Regions from separate parts of the Homo sapiens genome. Here regions 2 and 3 are each linked to region 1. Evidence: promoter capture Hi-C in human tissues and cell types (Jung and others, 2019). All regions are on one chromosome and are shown on one strand. Each heading gives the region's core, a stretch centred on a gene start or on the middle of the fragment in contact. The rest is flanking DNA. Distances are from core to core; before and after follow the strand shown. Region 1 holds the start of NPRL3 (NPR3 like, GATOR1 complex subunit). Region 2 holds the start of WFIKKN1 (WAP, follistatin/kazal, immunoglobulin, kunitz and netrin domain containing 1). Region 3 overlaps RAB11FIP3 (RAB11 family interacting protein 3).

Region 1 (4,102 bases), core at 1,231-3,730:
GGCTGGAGTGCAATGGTGCGATCTTGGCTCACTGCAAGCTCCGCCTCCCGGGTTCACACCATTCTCCTGCCTCAGCCTCCTGAGTATCTGGGACTACAGGCGCCCGCACCATGTCCAGCTAATTTTTTGTATTTTTAGTAGACACGGGGTTTCACTGTCTTAGCCAGGATGGTCTCGATCTCCTGACCTCGCGATCCGCCTGCCTTGGCCTCCCAAAGCGCTGGGATTACAGGCATGAGCCACTGCGCCCGGCACTTCCATGTCTTTTAGTGTATTCGCGTTCTCAGAGCTGTCCAACCATTACCACAGTCAACGTTAGAACATTTTCATCACTCCCCTTCAAAAAACCCATGAATCGCTCCATATTTCCCCTGACCCCCTGGAAGCCCTAGGCAGCCACTAATCATTCTGTCTCTATGGATTTGCCTATTCTGGGCATCTTATATAAATGGAATCATATATTAGTGTGTCTTCAAGATGGATTCATGTGCCGTACTTCATTCCTTTTTATGGCTGAATAGTATTCCCTTAAACAAACTATACCATATTCACCCATTCATCAATTGATATACCCTAGGATTGCTTCCACTTTGGGCTATTATGAATAATATTACTAAGAACACACATGTTTTTGTGTGGACATATGCTTTCATTTCTCTTGGCTATATATCTAAAAGGGGGATTTGCCGAGTGTTGTGTTAACTCTAACCTTTCAGGAACTGCCAGCCTGTTTTCCATAGCGAGTGTAGCCTCTTACATTCCCACCAGCAGGAGAGAGATTCCCGTTTCTCCACACCCCTGCTGACGCTTGTCTTTTTGATTACAGCCATCGTAGGAGGTGTGATGTGGCATCTATTTGTAGTTTTGATTTGCATCTCCCTAATGCCTAATAATGTTGAGCATTTTTAATTTCTGTTTTGCCCAGGCTGGTCTGGAGTTCCTGGCCTCTCAGCGCTGGGGTCACAGGCGTAAGCCTCTACCAGTTGAGCTGAGCATCTTCTGGTGCTTATTGGCCATTTGCATAATGCACTGGAAAAATATTCATATCCTTTGTGCATTTTTCAATTGTCTTTTTATTGTTGAGTTGTAAGTTTCCTCCATTCTAGATACAATTCCCTTATCAGATATGTAACTTACAAATATTTTCTCCCGTTCTGTGGGTGGACTTTTAATTTTCTTGATGGTGTCCTTTAAAGCACCGAAGTTTTTGTTTTGTTTTGAGATGGAGTCTCGCTCTGTCGCCAGGCCAGAGTTCAGTGGCACGATCTCGGCTCACTGCAACCTCCGCCTCCCGGCTTCAAGCGATTCTCCTGCCTCAGCCTCCCGAGTAGCTGGGATTAGAAGCAGGCGCCGCCAAACCCAGCTAATTTTTGTATTTTTAGTAGAGAGACGGGGTTTTACCATGTTGGCCAGGATGGTCTAGATCTCCTGATCTCATGATCTGCCCACCTCGGCCTCCCAAAGTGCTGGGATTTCAGGCGTGAGCCACCGCGCCCGGCCGCAGTAAAGTTTTTAATCTGATGAAGTTTAATTTATTCTTCTGTAGTCGCTCCTGCCTTTAGTGTCACTGCCTCGCCCAAGGTCTCAAAGATCTCCTGTCGGCTTCCAAGTGTTTTTTTTTTTTTTTTTTTTTTTTGAGACGGAGTCTCGCTCTGTCGCCTAGGCTGTAGTGCAGTGGCGCAATCTCGGCTCACCGCAAGCTCCGCCTCCCGGGTTCAAGCGATTTTCCTGTCTCAGCCTCCCGAGTAGCTGGGATTACAGGCGCCCGCCACCACGCCCGGCTAATTTTTTTTTTTTTTTTTGTAGAGACGGGGTTTCACCATGTTGGCCAGGATGGTCTCGAACTCCTGACCTCGTGATTCACCCGCCTCGGCCTCCCAAAGTGCTGGGATTACAGGCGTGAGCCACCGCGCCCGGCCTTTTTTTTTTCTTTTTTCTTTCTTTCTTTCTTTTTTTTTTTTTTGATACGGGGTCTCGTCGCTCTGTCGCCCAGGGTGGAGTGCAATGGCGTGATCTTGGCTCAATGCAACCTCCGCCTCCCGGGTTCAAGCGATTCTCCTCTAGGATTACGGGCGCCTGCCACCACGCCCGGATAATTTCTTCTAATTTTTAGTAGAGATGGGGTTTCACTATGTTAGCTAGGATGGTCTCGATCTCCTGACCTCGTGATCCGCCCGCCTCGGCCTCCCAAAATGCTGGGATTACAGGCGTGAGCCACCGCGCCCCGCCCAAGTGTTATTTGTAAAACGAAGAAACCAACATCGAGAGGGACGCTGACTCGACCCCGCGCCTTTCCCATCCGCACCAGCAAGAGGGGCCCCTGTGCCCCAAACGCGAACCGTACGGCTCCAGACAGCACCGCGGAACTCGGTGGCTTCCAGAAGGCCCCGCGCCTGCGCATTCCGCTGCCTGCGCCTGCGCCTGCGCCTGCGCCGTTCTCCCGGCCGCCGCCTTAGCACCTCCTCCGGACGGTGTCGCCGAAGTCTCGCGAGCCCGGAGCGTGGCACGTGGGTTGGTAACTGTGGCGCTGCTCCGCGTCCACCACCACCCCTGTCCTCCTCAGGCCCCCTCCGCCTCCACCCCTGCCCTCCTCAGGCCCCCTCCGCCTCCACCCCTGCCCTACTCAGGCCCCCTCCGCCTCCACCCCTGCCCTCCTCAGGCCCCCTCCGCCTCCACCCCTGCCCTCCTCAGGCCCCCTCCGCCTCCACCCCTGCCCTCCTCAGGCCCCCTCCGCCTCCACCCCTGCCCTCCTCAGGCCCCCTGCGTCCCCGCCTCGTCCTCCTCAGGCCCCCTCCGCCTCCGGCTCCGTCCTCCTCAGGCCCCCTCCGCCTCCGGCTCCGTCCTCCTCTGGCCCCCTCCGCCCCCGGCCCCGGCCCCACGGCGGGATGCGGGACAACACCAGCCCCATCAGCGTGATTCTGGTGAGCTCGGGGAGCAGGGGCAATAAGCTGCTGTTCAGGTACCCCTTCCAGAGAAGCCAGGAGCACCCGGCGTCCCAGACAAGTAAGTGAGCGCTGGGCGGGGGCCTGGCGCTCGCGGGGGCCGCCTCATTCCGGGGTCGCCTCATTCCAGGGCCGCCTCGCGGAGCTTAGCTTTTGCTGGGCATTCGAGATCTGCTCGTTGTAGAGTATTTGAAAAGTAGAAAAAGGAAAAAAAAAATTAAAATCATGCATTGTTCACCACACCAAAGCAACTACTGCTGACATTTCATCAGTCTCCAGCCTTTAAAAAATAAAGTAAAATAAAATAAAATGAGTTTGGGATGTATTCATCATGAGAAAATACAAAATTACACGAACAAGGCCGGTGGCGGTAATCCCAGCACTTTGGGAGGCCGAGGCGGGTGGATCACCTGAGGTCAGGAGTTCGAGACCAGCCTGGCCAACATGGTTGAAACTCTGTCTCTACTGAAAAAATAAAAATAAAAAAAAACAAATTAGCCGAGCGTGGTGGTGCGTGCCCATAATCCTAGCTACTTGGGAGGCTGAGGCAGGAGAATTGCTTGAACCCGGGAGGCGGAGGTTTCAGTGAACCGAGATCGCGCCACTGGATTCCAGCCTGGGCAACAGAGCAAGACTCCGTCTCAAAAAAAAAAAAAAAAGTTACGTGAACATCTGAAGTTGTCTTTGCCACCCCCAGTTCTAGCAAGCACAGGGATCACCCCTGGCCGTGTTGGGAGTTGTCTGCCCTGTGCATAGATGCAGATCTATCCACAGGAAAAGGGAACGTCGCGTGAGGTTTTTCATCGCACGAATTGTTCTGTGGCGCCCTTTTCCCATAGTCGGCCTTGGAGCTCCGTCTGCCTTTGCAAGCAGGGATCAACCTCACCCTTGGCTGCAGGCTGCTGCCTTCCCCTGTGGACGGCATGTAGGTTACTTTTGATTTTTCATCATCATGAATGTTCAGTTTTTGTTTTTATTTTATTTATTTTTTGAGACGGAGTCTCACTCTGTCGCCCAGGCTGGAGTTGAGTGGCGTGATCTCGGCTCACTGCAGCCTCCACCTCCCGGGCTCAAGGGATTCTCCTGCCTCAGCCTCCCAAGTAGCTGGGGCTACAGGGCATGTGCACCACACCCTGCAATTTTTTTTTTTTTTTTTTTTT
Region 2 (4,102 bases), core at 1,066-3,565, 490 kb before region 1:
CCGGGGCTGGGATGCTGGGGGCTGCGTCCCTGGCCGGCTCTCGCTGGACCACAGAGAGTGGGAAGTCAGCCCGCAGCAGCCCAGCAGCGTTGCGCGCGGTGCAGGTGTACAGGCCGGCGTCTTCGGGCCGCGCGTTGTAGAGCACCAGCTGCCCGATGCTGGTGACCACCACGTTGCCATACATCTGATCAGGGCGCATGATCAGGTTCTCTCGCTGGTGACTCTGCTTCTCCCAGGTCACAGCAGGCGGCGGGCGGCCGCTGACGTCGCAGTGGAGGCTGGCCGTACCCCCAACCTGCACCGCCTGTGGGGAGGGGCTGCTGTACAGGGCAGGAGGCACGGGCGCGGCCCCAGGTGTGGGGCGGGCAGTGGTCTCCGGCGGCCCCGGGCTGCTGGGCGGCCAGCTGAGCACGTGCTTGCAGGGCACGATGTGGAGGTGCAGGCCCCGCAGGCAGGCCTCGGCGTCCATATAGCAGCGGTTGTAGTAGGTGAGGCCGTCCGAGGCGCAGGTGAAGCTGGGCTCCTTCTCACAGCGGTCGCGGCAGCGGCACACGGGCTGCCCGTCCCAGATGTCGCAGTCCGAGCCCTGCTGTGGGCACACAAAGCCCTCGCAGGAGGCCGCTGTCGTCGGCGCAGCTGGGCTGCCGGGGAAGCGTGCTGCCACGCAGCTGTGCAGTCCACACACGTTGATGCAGCACTTCTCAGCAGCCGCACAGTCCTGGGGATGGGGGACACTTAGGTGGGAGCCCCAATGCCCCCCGCCCCGGGGCTCTGGCCTGGCCCCTGCAAGGGGAGGCCCAGGTGGGGTAGCAGGGAGCCCCCCGCTCTGTGGCTGCCTCCCCGGGGACTCAGTGTCCTTTCCATCCTGTGTGAGGAGCCACCTCGCCAGAGGTGCCACCTGGCTTACCTTCCAGAATCCTCACACCCACAAGCAAGTTCCGTTATTCTTTACGTTGTACAGACGAGGAAACTGAGGCCCAAGGAGGGCGTACAGTGCTCAGGACCACCCAGCAGGTGGTGCGGGCCAGGACAAAGGCTGGACATCGGCTGCAGCACCCCCACCACCATCTGCACTGGTCCCGGATGGAAGGAGGGTGGGAGGACAGGGAGGACAGTGGATGGAAGGAGAGGGTGGGAGGAGAGGATGGAAGGAGAGGGTGGGAGGAGAGGATGGAAGGAGAGGCAGTGACGGGGTGGGAGAAGAGGATGGAAGAAGTGGATGGGAGGAGTGGATGGGAGGAGTGGATGGGAGGAGAGGGTGGGAGGAGAGGCAGTGAAGGGGTGGGAGAAGTGGATGGGAGGAGAGGATGGAAGGAGAGGCAATGACGGGGTGAGAGAAGAGGATGGAAAAAGTGGATGGGAGGAGTGGATAGGAGAGGATGGAAGGAGAGGCAGTGATGGGGTGGGAGAAGAGGATGGAAGAAGTGGATGGGAGGAGTGGATAGGAGAGGATGGAAGGAGAGGCAGTGACGGGGTGGGAGAAGAGGATGGAAGAAGTGGATGGGAGGAGTGGATGGGAGGAGAGGGTGGGAGGAGAGGATGGAAGGAGAGGCAGTGAAGGGGTGGGAGAAGTGGATGGGAGGAGAGGGTGGGAGGAGAGGGTGGGAGGAGAGGCAGTGACGGGGTGGGGGTGGTCGCCGAGGATGATGGTGCCCCAGGGTGGAGGCACATGGGGAGCATGAAAGCTGGAGTGGGGAGGGCTCTTATTCTTAAGACAAATGAGGGCAACGATGGGGGTGTCTCTGGGCCCCTTAAGGGGCCCAGACCCAGACCCCCCAGAAGTCTGGGGAGCCCAGGCAGAAGGTGGCACCTCCAGCAGGGTCTTGCCCAGGCTGGCTGCTCTGAGCCCCAGGACCCCGGCCCGACCACACTCACCTGGTCCCTGCTACACTCGCGCTCACAGGTGCTCTGGGCGTCCACCCACAGGTTGGGGCTGAGCTGGTTGGGGCACACGCCCGGGTGGCTCCCCAGCCCTGGCAGCAAGCCAGCCCCCGAGGTCAGCCGGAGGAGGAGCAGGAGCGGCAGGAGTGGACGTAGGGCGGGCATGAGGGCCGCCGAGCCAGGGGGCCGGGGGGTGTGGCCACCAGCCCCTCCTCGGGCTCCACAGAGCCCAGCTTCCTGCAGGCATCCACCCTCCGGGCCTGTGGTCGGTGCCCCCACCAGGACCCCGGGGCTCCCTTTTGCCCCTGAGGCTGAAGCCTGCAGCAGATGCTTGTCCTGACACCCCTGCTGGGTGGGTAACGGGGTCTCCAAGTTCTCAGAGGCCGTCTGTGTGACGCTGGTTCCTCTCCAGCTTCAGCCTGGCCCCTCTGTCTGAACCGTGCGGGGGCTCCCAGGCCCTGGTCAGCACAGGGCAGAGGGGAGGAGGTTGGGGAGGGGCCAGAGGCCCATGAGCACAGAGCCACTGGCCATGAGGGTCACCGGGGCGGGGAAGGGCTGGCTCTGGCTGGAGAGGGGGAGGGGAGGGGACCCTGTAACCTGAACCCCTTCGTCCACCCCTGGGCTGAGATCAATCTCCTTGACGACCCTCAGTAGGGTGGGGGCAGGGCCAGCAGATCCCAGCTTTTGTCCCTGGCGCCCTCTGGACCCCAGGCTCCTATGCCATGGGGGTGGCAGGCACGGGCCCTCCCCGCAGAGCGTGGCTGACCACAGCCTGGGTCCCCCGGGCCAGGTCCAGGCTGGCAACGGTCACGTGCGGCCGAGGGCTTCACTCCGCTCCGAGGTTCCTTCCCCCCTCCATGGCTGTTTCAGGGGCACAGGGGTCTGCAGGACGCCCAGCACAGCCCGGCCTCCTCTGCTCTGCTGCCCCTGTTGGAGTGGGGCCCAACCCGGCAGGACTGCATTCCCAGAGACCCCATCCCTGAAACCAGGCAGCGGGCTTGGGGCTCAGGCCTGTCCCCAAGGCGGGGCAGGTGCAGCAGGAAGAGGCCTGTGGCCACCACAAGCATAAGAACAGCCCGAAACGCTGATGCCGGAGCCTCGGCCCACGCACCGTGTAGCCCTGGACGTGGCTCCGCGTGGGATGGCACCGCCCGAGGGAAGGCCAAGTGCAAGGGCGTCTGCAGCTGAAAAGAGCAAGTGTCCCAGGGCACCAGAGCCTTGCCCTGCCCCAGCCCCCCGTCGGCGGGGCACACATCCCCAGGCTGGCTCCTCTTCGTTGGGGAGGGCAGGGGGCTGGCCTGCCTGGTGCAGCAGGACAAAAGGCTGCCTGGAATCTACCCTTCCAAACCCTCTGTGGCTCCAGATGTCTGGGGCCTCAGGGAGTGGTTCTCTTGAGACCGGATGGGAGTGTCCCCCTGACCCTGTGTCTGACCTCTGACCCAGGAGGCAGGGTAACAGGAGCCTGGTCTGGTCAGAATGAGACCCGGAGACGGCTCCAGGCGCCAGTCCCTGCTCTACAAGGAGACTGGGGGTGGGCCCTGATAGCGTGGGGGTGGGGGTAGCTAGGCCAGACCCAGCAGCAGGCGGCTGGGCTGGAGCTGCCAGGGAGGGGCTTAAGGCCCGGACATGCCCACGAAACAGCACAGGGAGGCACCTGAGCCAGAGGCTGTGGTCTGGTCCCTGTACCAACTGGAGTGCCCCGTTCCAGCTCAGCTGTGACCTCCGGGGCGTCCACACCCCCCTGGGCCGGGCATAGCAGACACCAGATTGGCCAGCGTGCAGGCGGCTCTGCTGAGCGGGCCGACTGACTGGAGGACCTGGCCCTCTGGAGTCCTGCTGCTGTTGGGGACAGTCCGCCCCAGGCCATCTGCTGCCGGGGACTGTGAGCGAGGGCTCAGCACAGCCCAGCTGGGATTCCATCCACCGGGAAGAGGAGAATGGCCGTGACCAGGCCCAGCTGCTCCAGCCCAGCTCCAGCCCTCACTTTGAGGCGAACCCAGCCAACCGCGGCAGGTCAGCCCGGTCAGCGCAGGGAACAGCAGGCAAAACAAAGGCCAGAGGTCAGTTTGCCGGGTATGAAGCAGCACTGGCCCCTGGCACGGGGCACCGCCACTGCCAGACCCACCCCACCAGACACAGCAAAACGTGGGGACCACAGCTGAATTACATTTACTGTACAAAGAACGGTTCGGAGAGAACCAGGAATGGCGGAGTGTCTAAC
Region 3 (4,102 bases), core at 444-2,943, 370 kb before region 1:
AGGAGGCGCCACGCAGAGGCCCGGGTCTCCTGGCCCAGGCTCACCTGTGCACCAGCTGCAGGTTCTCCTGCCTCAGGCGGCTGTGTTGCTCACCGGTGGCTGCCGTGTCCTTTTCCAGCTCCAGCACACGCCTTTCCAGGAAGACAACCTTGGCAATGAGACCAGGCTTCAGGGTCAGGCAGCCAGAAGCAGAAGGGCCTGCACCCCCAAGGGAACAACCTGGGAGGCCGCCTGGGGATTTTCTCAGCACAGAATCAGATCCACCTAGCTAGGCTGGTGTTGGATCCAACTTGTCCCATAAACCCACAAAGGTGCAGCTCCTAATGGGGCCGGGGTCTTGGGGAGCACTGTCATTCGACCCACAAATGCACACAGTGCCGCAGCTCTGAGGGCTCGGGGCCCAGGGGTGCCTTTGGACTGGCTGGCTGGTGGGCAGCAAGACTCAGCCCCCCAACACACAGTTGGGTCTCTGCTCAGCCAGATGCAGCTCACAGAGGCAGCCCAGGTGCCCATGGATGCAAGGGACAGACAGATCCATGTCTCGGTCCCTCCCTCAGAGAGTTCACACCAAGATGAGAATCAGACACCTGCGGAGGTAGGAGAAGGAGTGAAGGGAGCAGAGGAGGACTTGGCCTGGGTCAGCAGACTTGAGATGCTAGAGAAGTTGTAGGGAGGAGGTGGTGGGGATGCAAGAGGAGGTGAAGTACAGGAGGAGGTGAGGAGGTACAGGAGGAGGTGAGAGAGTACAGGAGGAGATGGGGGTATAGGAGGAGGTGGGGGAGCAGGAGGAGGTGAGGGGGTACAGGAGGTGAGGGGTGCAGGAGGAGGTAAGGGGGTACAGGAGATGAGGGGGTACAGGAGGTGAGGGGGGTACAGGAGGAGATGGGGGTGCAGGAGGAGGTGAGGAGGGTGCAGGAAGAGGTGAGGGGGTATAGGAGGAGGTGAGGGGGTATAGGAGGAGGTGAGGCGGTACAGGAGGAGGTGAGGGGGTACAGGAGGTAAGGGGGGTGCAGGAGGAGGTGAGGGGGTACAGGAGGAAGTGAAGGGTACAGGAAGAGGTGAGGGGGGTACAGGAGGAGGTGAGGGGGTACAGGAGGTGAGGGGTGCACAAGGAGGTGAGGGGGTACAGGAGGAGATGGGAGTGCAGGAGGAGGTGAGGGGGTACAGGAAGAGGTGAGGGGGGTACAGGAGGAGGTGAGGGGGTACAGGAGGTGAGGGGTGCACAAGGAGGTGAGGGGGTACAGGAGGAGATGGGAGTGCAGGAAGAGGTGAGGGGGGTACAGGAGGAGGTGAGGGGGTACAGGAGGTGAGGGGTGCACAAGGAGGTAAGGGGGTACAGGAGGAGATGGGAGTGCAGGAGGAGGTGAGGGGGTACAGGAGGAGGTGAGGGGGGTACAGGAGGAGGTGAGGGGGTACAGGAGGAGGTGAGGGGGTACAGGAGGAGGTGAGGGGGTACAGGAGGTGAGGGGGTGCACAAGGAGGTGAGGGGGTACAGGAGGAGATGGGAGTGCAAGAGGAGGTGAGGGGGTACAGGAGGAGGTGGGGGGGTACAGGAGGAGGTGAGGGGGTACAGGAGGTGAGGGGGTACACAAGGAGGTGAGGGGGTACAGGAGGAGGTGAGGGGGTACAGGAGGTAGTGAGGGGGTACAGGAGGTAGTGAGGGGGTACAGGAGGTGGTGAGGGGGTACAGGAGGTGGTGAGGGGGTACAGGAGGAGATGAGGGGTACAGGAGGAATTGAGGGGGTACAGGAGTAAGTGAAGGGGTCACAGAAGGTGAGGGGGTGCAGAAGGTGAGACGGAGTCTCCCTCTGTCGCCCAGGCTGGAGTGCAGTCGTGCAATCTCGGCTCACTGCAACCTCCACCTCCCAGGTTCAAGTGATTCTCCTGCCTCAGCCTCCCAAATAGCTGGGATTACAGTTGCCCGCCACCATGCGTGGCTAACTTTTGTATTTTTAGTAGAGACGGGTTTTCACTATGTTGGCCAGGCTGATCTCAAACTCCTGACCTCAAGTGATCTGCCCGCCTAGGCCTCCTAATGTGCTGGGATTCCAGGCGTGAGCCACCACATCTGGCTGAAAAGCGGGTCTTGACCACGGCAAGGCTGCCTTGCCCTGGCTGCTGTCACCCATTCCATTCAAGGCCCCAGGAGAAGCCCGTTCCTCAGGCTGTTGGCTCTGCAGTAACTGCAGGGCCAGCCCTTTTCTCCCAAATCATGGGTGCCCCAGGTCGCGTCTCCATGGGCCTGGTGGACTGAATGTCTGGGTGTCCCCCAGCCCGACTCAGACACAGTGGGGGTGGGATACCCGAGGGTGCTCACTCACTGCCCAGTCCACTCCTCCCAGCTGGCCCTTCGTGCACAACAGGAAGACTCCTTTTTCTCACATGGCCACGAGACCCCTTGGGGAAACCTGCCAAAGAGCATCGGGGCTGGATGGACAGTCTGGGGAGCCCTGGAGGACATGGGGTCACCTCCGGCTGTGCTGTCCCCACCTCCCGGGGTGTCTGCAGCGGCCCTTAGGCGTGGCTGTGTTCTAAATCCCCTACTTGCCACCTACCCAGCCCTCCAGGGCCTACCTTGTCAGCAATGTCCTCCTCTGGGCCCTCCATGAGCTCGGGGGAAGGGTCCTCCAGGGCCTCCATGGTCAGGGCCCCTGACTGGTGCAGGTACCTACAGAAAAGGCACAACAACAGAGGGAAGAAAGGGAAAAACCACAGGACATGCTCCGTCAGCACAAGCACTCCCAAGTCAATCTGAAAAGCAGGCAGCAGCATTGCAGGGGACAGGTCCTCCCCTGATCTGGGTGGTGGTCTTCTCCCACTTAAAGCACTATATACAGGGGGAGGTCCCAGGCTGGACATCTTTACCAGGGGCTGGGAGAAAGCAGGCCGTGCTCTGTGGTCTCAGAGTCTTCCTGGCGCTCTTTGGAACCTGACAGAACATGACCTCAGTCCCAGCCAGCGAGTGGCAGAGAGGACTTTGTACTTGGCTGCAATAAAACATGCCCTTCTTCGCAGAGACACGAACAATCTCGTCTCTACCAGAGGCCTGTGAGACATCAGCTCAGGACCTTGACCTGCAGACACCTCCCCTGTGCACATTCTTGATCTCAGACTTTCACAGGTGCTTTCTGTGGCAGGAAGAGTGAGGGTCCCAGGAAAGGTGTGGATCCCAGAAGTCTCACTCAGTGTCACCCTCACGGACACACTGGGAAACTGGTCCGACCGAGTCCAGGAAGACAGCAGACACACGTGTCCTCTGTGGCACCAGCTCCTGTGGACACGCCCCCAGCACCGCAGGCCATGCCAGTTACTACCCGGGCCAGGCTCGGGGACACAGCCTCATGGTCCTGAGTAGACGCAAAGGCCCATAGGCTGCGGCCTTGGGGCAGGAGCTTCTCCAGGGAGTGTGAACTTAGGCGCGCAGTAAGCGCGTGCTTGTGGTCACCACGTGGTCAGATTCGCTGTGGTGAATCTGTACCAACCCAAACTTGCCGGGAGTACAGAAAACTCTCAGAGCACTCGCACAGAAGAGCCAACAGCAAAGGTGCGTGTTCAGTTCTTTATACATCCTGGGAACCTCAGTACCAAGCCAGGCTCCAGGCTGACAGCCTGATGCTCAGAACTGCGTGACCGTTAAAAAGCACTGGCCCTCTCCGAGCTTCCTTGCCTATGAAATGGGGGGACCCTCTCCCAGCCTCCTTGCCTATGAAATGGGGGGACCCTCTCCCAGCCTCCTTGCCTATGAAATGGGGGGACACTCTCCCAGACTCCTTGCCTATAAAATGGGGGGACCATCTCCCAGCTTCCTTGCCTATGAAATGGGGGATCCTCTCCGAACTTCCTTGTCTGTGAAATGGGGGGACCCTCTCTGAACTTCCTTGCCTGTGAAATGGGGGGACCCTCTCCCAGCTTCCTTGCCTATGAAATGGGGGACCTTCTCCGAACTTGTCTGTGAAATGGGGGGACCCTCTCCCAGCTTCCCTGCCTATGAAATGGGGGGAGCCTCTCTGAACTTGTCTGTGAAATGGGGGGACCCTCTCCCAGCTTCCTTGCCTGTGAAATGGGGGGACCCTCTCCCAGCTTCCTTGCCTATGAAATGGGG

What was found. The method cuts DNA at HindIII sites, captures the fragments that hold promoters and counts their contacts. A contact is called where the count stands out against the background at its distance.
Region 2: the fragment with the promoter of WFIKKN1 here is called in contact with the fragment with the promoter of NPRL3 in region 1 in 2 of the 25 tissues and cell types used here (dorsolateral prefrontal cortex and lymphoblastoid cells).
Region 3: a fragment that was not itself captured here is called in contact with the fragment with the promoter of NPRL3 in region 1 in 1 of the 25 tissues and cell types used here (dorsolateral prefrontal cortex).

Annotation. Positions count from the first base shown.
Region 1 is chr16:137,051-141,152 of GRCh38, reverse strand. It overlaps NPRL3 (NPR3 like, GATOR1 complex subunit), which reads left to right and starts at 2,480. Exons shown (of 14, transcript NM_001077350.3): 1 at 2,480-2,511; 2 at 2,819-3,003. The coding sequence starts at 2,886. RefSeq lists an enhancer at 2,551-2,600 and a silencer at 2,821-3,050. The HindIII fragment of the contact is 17,392 bases long and covers 1-4,102 here.
Region 2 is chr16:629,198-633,299 of GRCh38, reverse strand. WFIKKN1 (WAP, follistatin/kazal, immunoglobulin, kunitz and netrin domain containing 1) reads right to left here and starts at 2,315. Exons shown (of 2, transcript NM_053284.3): 1 at 1,876-2,315; 2 at 1-718. The coding sequence starts at 2,046. It overlaps RAB40C (RAB40C, member RAS oncogene family), which reads right to left. Exons shown (of 6, transcript NM_021168.5): 6 at 4,032-4,102. RefSeq lists enhancers at 2,222-2,956, 3,137-3,431, 2,957-3,690. The HindIII fragment of the contact is 11,828 bases long and covers 1-4,102 here.
Region 3 is chr16:501,570-505,671 of GRCh38, reverse strand. It overlaps RAB11FIP3 (RAB11 family interacting protein 3), which reads right to left. Exons shown (of 14, transcript NM_014700.4): 7 at 2,575-2,668; 8 at 45-148. Among named protein-coding and RNA genes, the nearest start is that of LINC00235, 24 kb to the left of the region's middle. The HindIII fragment of the contact is 7,970 bases long and covers 1-4,102 here.